2 separate regions of the Homo sapiens genome follow, and region 2 is linked to region 1. The links are contacts of gene promoters, found by promoter capture Hi-C in human tissues and cell types (Jung and others, 2019). All regions are on one chromosome and are shown on one strand. Each heading gives the region's core, a stretch centred on a gene start or on the middle of the fragment in contact. The rest is flanking DNA. Distances are from core to core; before and after follow the strand shown. Region 1 holds the start of GLOD4 (glyoxalase domain containing 4). Region 2 overlaps VPS53 (VPS53 subunit of GARP complex).

What was found. Contacts are between HindIII fragments. The study calls those that stand out against the background at their distance.
Region 2: a fragment that was not itself captured here is called in contact with the fragment with the promoter of GLOD4 in region 1 in 3 of the 25 tissues and cell types used here (hippocampus, liver and thymus).

Annotation. Positions count from the first base shown.
Region 1 is chr17:779,847-785,638 of GRCh38, forward strand. GLOD4 (glyoxalase domain containing 4) reads right to left here and starts at 2,434. Exons shown (of 9, transcript NM_016080.4): 1 at 2,320-2,434. The coding sequence starts at 2,409. It overlaps MRM3 (mitochondrial rRNA methyltransferase 3), which reads left to right and starts at 2,507. Exons shown (of 4, transcript NM_018146.4): 1 at 2,507-2,846; 2 at 3,237-3,481. The coding sequence starts at 2,533. RefSeq lists enhancers at 1,365-1,464, 2,465-2,814, 2,486-3,034. The HindIII fragment of the contact is 5,823 bases long and covers 1-4,074 here.
Region 2 is chr17:698,376-704,167 of GRCh38, forward strand. VPS53 (VPS53 subunit of GARP complex) reads right to left here. Exons shown (of 22, transcript NM_001128159.3): 3 at 956-1,005. Among named protein-coding and RNA genes, the nearest start is that of VPS53, 14 kb to the right of the region's middle. The HindIII fragment of the contact is 8,041 bases long and covers 1-5,792 here.

The DNA of each region.
Region 1 (5,792 bases), core at 1,184-3,683:
AACGCTTCGCTCAGACTATTAAAAATCATCCTTATTGGCCGGGCGCGGTGGCTCACGCCTGTAATCCCAGCACTTTGGGAGGCCGAGGTGGGTGGATCATGAGGTCAGGAGATCGAGACCATCCTGGCTAACACAGTAAAACCCCATCTCTACTAAAAATACAAAAAATAAGCAGGGCGTGGTGGCGGGCGCCTGTAGTACCAGCTACTCGGGAGGCTGAGGCAGGAGAATGGTGTGAACCCAGGAGGCGGAGCTTGCAGTGAGCCGAGATTGCGCCACTGCACTCCAGCCTGGGCGAAAGAGCGAGACTCCGTCTCAACATAAAAAAAATAAAAAATAAAAAATAAAAAAATCCTTATTGATATCCTTCCTTAATAACACCAAAAAAGCACATGCCTAAAGCACAAAGCACTGATCCCATCACCACCCTGTTTAAGAACATAAGTGAGCTCCCATCTTACTGCAGCATAAAATCCAAATTCTTTAGCATAGCATTCAAGATACTATTAGAAGCAATGCCGACCTGTCCATCCTGATATCCCATCTCCTTAACTTCAACTAAGCAACCTCAACTAAAGGCACATAAAACCAGCGGCTTCGCAAACATGTGCCATCTCCGCACTGGCTCTTCAGTTTTACTATGTAGCTCCTCCTCTCATCTACCTGTGGATATCCTATCTTTAGACGTCAACTCGAATCCTGGCTAACACGGTGAAACCCCGTCTCTACTAAAAATATTTTTAAAAATTAGCCGGGTGTTGTGGTACGCGCCTGTGGTCCCAGCTACTCGGGAGGCTGAGGCAGGAGAATGGTGTGAACCCGGGAGGCTGAGCTTACAGTGAGCCGAGATCGCGCCACTGCACTCCAGCCTGGCGACAGAGCAAGACTCCACCTCAAAAAAAAAAAAAAAAAAAAAAGTCAACTCGAATACAAGGTCTACATGAATTATTTCCTCATCACCCAGGTTGGAAAACCGCTCCTTCTTTTGTATTTTTATAATAGTGGCTAACACTTATATAATCTACTATTACCGATATGTTAAATACTATACATATAATAAGGTGTTGAATCTTTTTTTTTTTTTTTTTTTTGAGACGGAGTTTTGCTTTCGTCATCCAGGCTGGAACACAATGGTGCGATCTCGGCTCACTGCAACCTCCGCCTCCCAGATACAGGCGATTCTCTTGCCTCAGCCTCCCGAGTAGCTGGGATTACAGGCGTGTGCCACCATGCCCGGCTAATTTTTGTATTTTTAGTAGAGACAGGGTTTCACCATGTTGGCCAGGCTGGTGTCCAACTCCTGACCTCCAGTGATCCACCCGCCTTGGCCTCCCAAAGTGCTGAGATTACAGGCGTGGGCCACCGCGCCGGCACGTGTTTAATCTTTGCAACAACCTTTTGATCGACGAGGAAATACTAACAAGGGACAGCTCTGTGGTTTCTGCTATCGAAAGTTTGGTGGTTTTTCACTATCAAATTCTGACTTCCATTACCATCATCTACGTACAAATCCAGTTCCAACTCCCACCCCAACCCAGGCCATGAGCTCTAATGGAGGATATATATCAGGGTCATTTGCACCTTTGTTGCCAAAACTCAACGTAGTACCCTGAAAATAGCAGATATTTTAAAAATGACCTGACGAATTCAGATCCCCGTCTATTGCACCGTCTATACACTAAACCGCGCTCTTGCACCTTTCAAGTCTTCCTTAGTGGTGTGTTCCCTACCTCCCTGGCTTATCAAAGGAGGTCCCCAAAACCCAGTTCCCCAACCAACTGAATCCTGCAAATAACAGCTCCTCAGGACCCGAGACAGACCGCTTCTGGGTGCTGTTGAAAAGCAGATGGGTTGAGAGTTGGAGCATATATTCAGAGACTGAGTATCCGAAACGGACTATTCAGACCAGCCTTGCTAGAAGCAGAACTCTGAATACGCTGATTTTATCTACATCAAAGGCTCCAAACCGGAAAACACAAATATTAACTAGAAAGCATTATATAACATTTTATTTACCGTCTTTTCCGGTAGACGGTAAGCTCCACAAGGGCGGGGCTCAATAAACGTTTACGAGTGGCTTAAATGAAAGGACGTGCGTGGGCACACCGCGGGGACTAATCGTGTTAGGCCCTTCTCCAAGGCCTATGATCCCCAACGGCAACTCGCCACGCTCCTGAAGCTGAACACCGCGCAGGGCCTAAGGTCGGACACCCTCCGGCTTAGGTTCACGACACACCCATTTTCCCCTCCCTCCGCCAGGGCCGGCTCGGGCGCCGGTTCCAGCCTCGCGCGCCAGCCCCTGTCGGCCCCGGCCTGCACCTTCATCCCCAGGACGTCCCGATAGAAACGCGCCGTCTGGAAGCGGTTTCCCACTTTGAATACGAAGTGCAGAGCTCTGCGAGCAGCCATGATTCCCGCCGCACGCAGCCGTCACGCGCACCGTACAGCCCAGTCCACGAAGGGCGCCACGGGCCGTGACGTCACTAGCCGCCGACGGCGCGCTTTCGTGACGCAGCCCGGGTCTCAGGGAACATGGCGGCGCTGGTGAGACCCGCGAGGTTTGTCGTGCGACCGTTGCTGCAGGTGGTCCAGGCTTGGGACCTTGACGCGAGGCGCTGGGTCCGGGCGCTGCGGCGGAGCCCAGTGAAAGTGGTGTTTCCTTCCGGAGAGGTGGTGGAACAGAAGCGCGCTCCTGGGAAGCAGCCCCGCAAGGCACCATCTGAGGCCAGTGCCCAGGAGCAACGAGAGAAACAACCGCTCGAGGAGTCCGCATCCCGCGCTCCCAGCACCTGGGAAGAGTCTGGGCTTCGCTACGATAAAGCTTATCCCGGGGACAGGAGGCTGAGGTGATGTGGTTCTTGAGCCTGTCGAATGTTCTCGTTTCCCTTCCCGTCGCACAGCGGAACCTTAACCTCCTTCCGATGGAGGACTTCTTCCAGTACAGCCCGCTGGTTTTTGTATTATGCACAGAGGGCCGAATAAGCGTCTTTGGAATTAGCTTCTGTTTCTCCTTAGCTCTTTGTTGTTGTTTTTGTTTCACCATGTTAGCCAGGCTGATCTGGAACTCCTGACCTCAGGTGATCCGCCCGCCTCGGCCTCCCAATGTGCTGGGATTACAGGCGTGAGCCACCGCGCCCGGCCCTCTCCGTAGCTCTTTATTTCTGTTACAACTAAGCGTGTCTCAGTAACAAGGATGTTGATAGTTACCTGTTTTTTTTTTTTATTTCCATCTACAGCAGTGTAATGACAATAGTAAAGTCCAGGCCATTTCGGGAAAAACAAGGGAAGATCCTGCTGGAAGGTCGCAGGCTCATTTCAGACGCTCTCAAGGCTGGAGCTGTGCCAAAAATGTTCTTCTTTAGCCGTCTAGAATACCTAAAGGAGTTGCCAGTCGATAAGCTGAAAGGTGTCAGCCTCATTAAGGTGAAATTTGAGGATATCAAGGATTGGTCCGACCTCGTAACGCCACAAGGAATAATGGGTTAGTGATTACCCAGTGTATCTTTTTTTTTTTTTGTCTTGTTCTGTCACCCAGGCTGGAGTGCAATGGCGCGATCTCGGCCCACTGCAACCTCCGCCTCTCGGGTTCAAGGGATTCTCTTGCCTCAGCCTCCGCAGTAGCTGGGATTACAGGCGTCTGCCACCATGCCCGGGTGATTTTTGTATTTTTAGTAGAGGTGGGGTTTCACCATGTTGGCCAGGCTGACGTCGAACTTGTGACCTCAGGTGATCCTCCTGCCTCGGCCTCCCAAAGTGCTGGGATTACAGGCGTGAGCCACCATGCCTGGCCTTACACAGTGTATCTTAAGGTGTGGAGACCTAGGATTAATTTCTCATACTTGTCTTAGGACAGCAGCATTGAAATGAAATTCAAAATGTTACAATTAGAAAAATATAATTCTCAAACCTGTGTATCTTAGAGTATTTTCAATGGAAATTGAAACCCGTTTTTCACTATCATTTGTGTTGTGGCTCTTTATGGTCTCTAGGAAGAACCACTATTCCTCAAACCTTCTATTTTTTAGATTACTTCTTCAACTTTCTATGTCAGATTAAAAATTAAGAAAGCGTTTACTGAAAGATTGAGCCCTTCATTTTTGCAAAACCTCTGCCAATGTGGTGATAACTGTCAATAAACTGCTTATTCCAGAAGCAGATCTAAGAAGCGAGGTACAAGCCACAATTTACTGCCCCGTTTAGCCCAATAAACAGAGAACCTTGTCTTCTAGTCTGTTCCTTCATTTGGCTGAATCTGACTTAACCTTATGTAACTCCGATGTTGATTAGCAGTTACAAAGTCTTTGGTCTAAATATGAGAAGATAAGTTTTTCATACGTTTTTGACATGGGAGTTTTAAGATATGAAAACTGAATCCTTGAACTGCTGAGAGAGGAGATTCTGGGGAACCATCTCTTGTCTCTGTAACCCAGTGAGTCACAGGGATCTGTGCCTCTGCACTCAGAGCTCTTAGATCCTAGGATGGGGACTTGGATTACTAAAGTACCTAGAATTACTCATGCTAAGTAACCATATTCTCACTAGCTACAGCCCTCTAATCCACACGCCATGCTTCAGTGAAAGTGTTATTCATTTTTACCGTGCTTGTCACTTGGGGCAGGTGTGCTCACAGTGGCCAGCCCATCTTGAACTTGTGCTTGTCACTTGGGGCAGGTGTGCTCACAGTGGCCAGCCCATCTTGAACTTGTGCTTGTCACTTGGGGCAGGTGTGCTTACAGTGGCCAACCCATCTTGAACTTCATCATCATACCTGCTTTCATCATTTCCTGGCTTATCCTTATGTTACTATATTTTAGATTTGAGGGCAGGGAATAAGGGAGAAATGGATAGGAACTGGCAGCACCTGTCAGGCTTTAGACAGACACTCCCCAGAATCCAGCGACATAAGTAGGGCCTCCGTATAGTGGGTTCTCATCACCACAGACATCCAAGTAGAAGTAAAGGACTTCTAAGGTCCTCAGCCCTACTGAATGGCTTTTGGCCATCTGTGACTCCGAAGTGGAGGCTCTCTCACAGCACACAGACGCCTAATACCCTTCCATTGCCTTCAGTGGTGGATAGGCTTTTTACCTGCACCATCTTTTAGAAAGAATCCTAAATCTTTGATTGTATCATGTTTCAGTACAAGTACTATTTCATTCATCTCCTGACTTCAGTCAGTAGCCCATTTATTGTAGCAATCATATACGACAAAATACTAGTAAGATTCAAAAAAACTGTACAGTCCCTTGGGAGCAGACTACAAAGGGATTGAATATTTGATAATTATACATAAAGAGTTTAGGGTAGTGCTTGGCTTAAAAAAAAAAGCTTACTAAAAGGTTATCATTATCACCTCTACCAGTAAACATGGTGATTCAAAAAGAAACTTGTGGATATGTGATACACCCATGTGAATAACTTCATCTATACCACAGCAATTTCATGTACTCAAAGCCATTTTTAATATTGTTATTAGCCTTTTTCCAATTTTTCTCTTTTCCCATAAATTCTTTCCATAAAACTTTAGAGATTAATAATGTAGAGATTATATAATGTAGATTATTATATAATGTATATATAATTTTATCATGTAGAGATCATTAAATAAGGAGAGAATTTTCCACTAAGAAGGCCACTTAGGGTTTTCATTTTCCCAGATAGTCCCAGACCCCATTTTACTCCTTTGTATTAGACTGAGGACAGAGCGGTCGCCAGTAAGTGGCTGTACCCATTCTAAAGCTCCCAGGCTTCTGGACCTCCAGCGTGAGGCCTTGGAAGTGACTCAAGCGTTC
Region 2 (5,792 bases), core at 1,193-3,692, 81 kb before region 1:
TAAGCCAAGATCACACCACTGCACTCTAGCCTGGGTGACAGAGCCAGACTCCATCTCAAAAAAAAAAAAAAAAAATCTAGTAGATGTGGGAGACTGAGGCAGGCAGATTGCTTGAGCTCAGCAGTTTGAGACCAGCCTAGCCAACAAGGCGAAACCCCATCTCTACAAAAAATATAAACATTAGCAAAGTGTGGTGGTGCGCCTGTAGTCCCAGCTACTCAGGAGGCTGAGGTGGGAGGATCACTTGAGCCCAGGAGTTCGAGGCTGCAGTGAGCTGTAACTGCACCAGTACGCTCCAGCCTGGGACACAGAGTAAGACCTTGTTTTGAAAAAAAAACAGAAAAAAAGAAAAAAAAAATCTATCAGAAAAGCTTTTGCCTCCTTCTATAATTACAAAAGATGTTTTGAGTAGACTCTATCACAGCTTCCTTCCTTTTGTATGAAGAATTGAAGACTGGCCAAAGCATTGAGTTCCTTGCCACAAAGTTCATATGGATAAAATAATTATATGGCCGGGTGCGGTGGCTCACCCCTGTCATCCCAGCACGTTGGGAGGCGAAGGCAGGTGGATCACTTGAGGTCAGGAGTTCGAGACCAGCCTGACCAACATGGTGAAACCCCGTCTCTACTAAAAGTACAAAATTTGCCAGGCGTGGTGGCTCACACCTGTAATCCCAGCTACTAGGGAGGCTAAGGCAGGAGAATCACTTGAACCTGGGAGGTGGAGGTTGCAGTGAGCCAAGATCACACCATTGCACTCCAGCCTAGGCAATGAGCAAAAATCCGTCTCAAAAATAAATAAATAAATAATAAAAATTTTAAAAGGAATTATATTACCATCTATGGCAAACTTGAGATTTCAGTGCTCTCACAGAAAAATGTGATCCAGAATGTGATTAACTAAATTAACAATATACTTTTCATTAATTATGAACAATCACACAGCTTTACTCACCTTATTTTCAGCCTAATTTTGTTCACGACTTCGTCTATGTTCGCCAGAGACTACAATAAAGAAGGAAGAGTGCCCAGCTGTTAGTCCACTTCCTGGAATTCCTCTTTCACAGGAAAATGATGTGCTATAATAGCTACTTATGAAATCTCAAAAAATTTAATCACATGATATGAGTTTTGCTTTAAAAAAAAAAAAAGTAAAGCAGTAGTTGGAAGCTACAGCCACATCTAGCCCAGCCCCTGTTTTTTGTAAATAAAGTTTCACTGGAACACAGCCATGCCCGTTCACTTACATATTGCCTGCGGCTGCTCTTAAGCTAACATGGCAGGTAGGCAGTCGTGAAAGACGCTGTACAGCCACAAAGCCTGAAGTATTTACTATCTGGACCTTTACAGGAGAGTCTGCTGACCCATGGTGTACGTGATTGTGACAAATTCACGTAACGAAATACAGCAACAAAAATGAATGAATGCACAACACCATGGATAAACATTTTACTAACGGAATGGGGCACAGAAAAAGCCAGACACAAGGGGACAGAGGATATGATTTCACTAACATAATTCTCCTGTTAGAAGCTAGGACAGTGGTTATCTCTGGGGGAAGGTAGTGACAGTGAACAGGCAAGGAAAGGCCTTCTGAAGATTTTTTTAAATGTTTTATTTCTTGATCTGGGTGGCAGTTACATGGCTATGTTCATTTTGTGAAACTTCATCAAGTTGTACCCTTAAGATTTGTGTACTCCTCTGTATTATGTTATACTTCAATAAATACACAAATTTATTTTTTATTATATAGATCCACTAGAAAAAAGTCTGGAAGGATAGATAGGAGTAATTGTAATGTATTAGTAGTTGCAGCATTAGTAGCTATAATCTATCAACTACGTATTGCAATATGAAAAGAAGTGATTTCAAATTTTTCTTCTTGGGCCGGGTGCAGTGGCTCACGCCTGTAATCCCAGCACTTTGGGAGGCCAAGGCAGGCGGATCACCTGAGGTCAGGAGTTTGAGACCAGCCAGACCGTCATGGCGAAACCCCATCTCTACTAAAAATACAAAAAAAAAAAAATTAGGCAGGCTTGGTGGTGGGCACCTGTTGTCCCAACTACTCAAGAGGCTGCGGCAGGAGAATCGCTTGAACCCGGGAGGCAGAGGTTGCAGTGAGCTGAGAATGTGCCATTGCACTCCAGCCTGGGCAACAAGAGCAAAACTCTGTCTCAAAAAAAAATATTTTCTTCTTTTTGTCTGTATTTTATAATTATTGACTATGCACTACTACTGTGATTATAATAAGCTTATTATAACAACAATTAAAACAAAGGGATCACTTCTGACCTTAGAGATGAGAAAATGTGAGGAAATGGTGCCCCCTAATGGACAAGAGGAGGTACAATTTTATAGTACTATTTTAATTCAAGTTTTCAAAATACAATTTAATAAATCCTCTTCCTCTCTCCCTTAACAAATATTTTATCTCAGAAGGAATTAGGGATATTGTAGGAAATATGCTTATAAATTGCTTCTGGCTACCTCTGATGGGAGGAGGAGGCCAGGTGCCTTCCAGGAGCAGGTCTGGTAAGAGAAACAGGCCATGAGTGTTTGAGATGTCAGACTGGGTTGTCACAGCTCATCCTACTGTTCTGACCAAGCCAACAGTTACTCAGAATTTTCAGAAATCCAAGAACAGCTTGAGGTAAAAATGAATCTCAGGCTGGACGTGATGGCTCATGCCTGTAATCCCAGCACTTTGGGAGGCTAAGGTGGGAGGATCACTTAAATCCAGGAATTCAAGACCAGCCCAGACAATACAGTGAGATCCCATCTCTCCAAAAAATAAAAAAAAGTTAGCCAGGCATGGTGGCATGTGCTTGCAGTCCCAGGTACTCAGGAGGCTGAGGTGGGAGGATCACCTGAGCCCAGAAGGTCGAGGCTGCAGTAAGTCATGTTTGCACCACTGCACTCCAGCCTGGGCTAAACAGCCCTGTCTCAAAAAAAAAGAAAAACGAATCTCAGAAAAATTACTTTAATTTATATATAATTATATATATACATATATTTTTGTGTGTGATGGAGACTAGCTCTGTCACCAGGCTGGAGTGCAATGGCGCGATCTCGGCTCACTGCAACCTCCGACTCCCTGGTTCAAGCGATTCTCCTGCCTCAGCCTCCCGAGTAGCTGGGATTACAGGCACATGCCACCACGCCCAGCTAATTTTTGTATTTTTAGTAGAGACGGGGTTTCACCACGTTGGCCAGGATGGTCTCGATCTCTTGACCTCGTGATCTGCCCGCCTTGGCCTCCCAAAGTGCTAGGATTACAGGTATGAGCCACCGCGCCTGGCCAAGAGGAAAACATTTCTAATATCATTTTATGATAGCAAGTATTTTTATAATATCAAATAGCCTACCTTTAAGATGGCGGCTCACTCTGTCACCAAGGCTGGAGTGCAGTGGTGCAATCATAGCTCACTGTAACCTCAAACTCCTGGGCTCAAGCAATCCTCCCACCCCAGCCTCCTGAGTGGCTAGGAACAAAAAGGTACATGCACTGAGCCTGGCTAATTTTATTATTTTGTTATAAACACAGGGTCTTGCTATGCTGTCCAAGCTGATCTTGAATTCCTGGCTTCAAGCAATGCTCCCGCCTTGGCCTCCCAAAGCACTGGGATTACAGGCATGAGGCAGTGCACCCGGCCCTATAATATCATTTTTATAATATAATGAATGTAGCTTTTAAAAAGAACAGAGGCCGGGTGTGGAGGCTTATGTCTGTCCTTTGGGAGGCTGAGGTGGGTGGACTGCTAGAGCCCAAGAGTTAGAGACCAACCTGGACAACGTGGTGAAACTCCGTCTCTACAAAAAAATAGAAAAATTAGCCGGGTATGGTAGCACACGCCTGTAGTACAATCTGCTTATTAGGCTGAGGAAAGAAGACTGATTGAGTCTGTAAATTCCAGGGCACAGTGAGCTGTGATGGAGCCACTGAACTGTAGCCTGGGTGATGGGTGACAATCTCAAAAAGAAAAAATAAATAAAAATAAAATAAAAATAGGCTGGGCGCGGTGGCTCATGCCTGTAATCCCAGCACTTTGAGGCCGAGGTGGGCGGATCACAAGGTCAGGAGTTCGAGACCAGCCAGGCCAATATGGTGAAACCCCGTCTCTACTAAAAATACAAAAAAAAATTAGCCGGGCGTGGTGGCAGGTGCCTGTAATCCCAGCTACTCGGGAGGCTGAGGCAGGAGAACTGCTTGAACCCAGGAAGCAGAGGTTGCGGTGAGCCGAGATCGCGCCACTGCACTCCAGCCTGGATAACAGAAGGAGACTCTGTCTCAATAAATAAATAAATAGAAGAGAAAGAAATATCCTAAAGTTACACTATTTGATAGTCAGGTGGCCTTTGGGTGACTGTTTTCCCTTCATTTCCAGGCTTTCTGCTGGAGGGGAAAGGGAAAGGCTGCTAGCATTTAATGTGGATCTCCTAGGCAACAATTGCAGGCACTTCACAGAAATTATTTCCCTTAATCCCCTCTGCCAGGCGAGGCACACTTTTCTCCTCTTCAACGTTAAGATTGGGAACTATGGAGGCGGAGGCCGGGCATGGTGGCTCATGCCTGTAATCCCAACACTTTGGGAGGCCAAGGTACGTGGGTTTCCTAAGCTCAGCAGTTCAAGACCAGTCTCTGGGCAACCTGGCAAAACCCTGTCTCTACCAAAAATACAAAAAACTACCTGGGCTTGCTGGTGCACACCTGTGGTCCCAGCTACTCAGGAGGCTGAGGTGGGAGGATCGCTTGAGCCTGGGAGGCAGAGGTTGCAGCGAGCCGAGATCACACCACTGCATTCCAACCTAGGTGACAGAGTGGGAACCCACCTCAAATAAAAAACAGATGGGAAACGTGCTCTGCAGGACAGGTGCTTTGCCTGAAGCTGCAGAGATCCCACCTCAAATAAAAAACAGATGGGAAACGTGCTCTGCAGGACAGGTGCTTTGCCTGAAGCTGCAGAGATCCTCTTTCTTACTCTAGCATCTACCTCTAACGCAATGATTCTTGACCTAATTTTCCTGCACCCCAAGACACCGGACAGCTATGACACACCCACTCTCATCAGTTAGTTCAGTGTCTGGCTATGGCAGTGATCCTCACCAGGGTCGAGGGCCTCTCCTGGAGTTGGGGAAAAGCCCTGTGGGAATCCACATTGGCTGGGCAGAGGGGTTTATCCTGCTTTGAGAATCACTCATCTCGTTTAGTTATAATGTGGTTGTACAGTTTTGTTTACTTTTTAAATGTTTTAGTTATTGCAAAATATTTCCTGATTCTAATGGTAATTCTTGACAATTACAGAAAATAGGTAGTCATCTGCACACCCAGGACAGTATGACCACAATCAGAATTTTTGCGTATTGCCTTCTACTACGAAACTGTATAGCTGTACAAAAATAAACTGGGATGATAAGCAATTTGGCATCTTTTTTTTTTTTTTTTAAGGCAGGATCTCATTCTGTCACCCAGGCTGCAGTGCAGTGGCACGATCTCAGCTGACTGCAACTTCCACCTCCCAGGCTCAAGCGATCCTCCTGCCTCAGTGATCCACCCGCCTTGGTCTCCCAAAGTGCTGGGATTAGAGAATACAGCCATGAGCTGGATCTTGGGTTTTTTTTTCTCTTAACAATACAGATCCAGAGCATTTTTGGGGTCACCAGAAACTCTTTAGAAACATCCCCATATAACTCTTTTCTCAAAGTTCCTAATTATGTTAGTTTTGTATTAGTTTTCCATAAATTTCATTTAGTTTCCTCTAATCAAACTTTCAAATGATTATCTTCAGTTTACT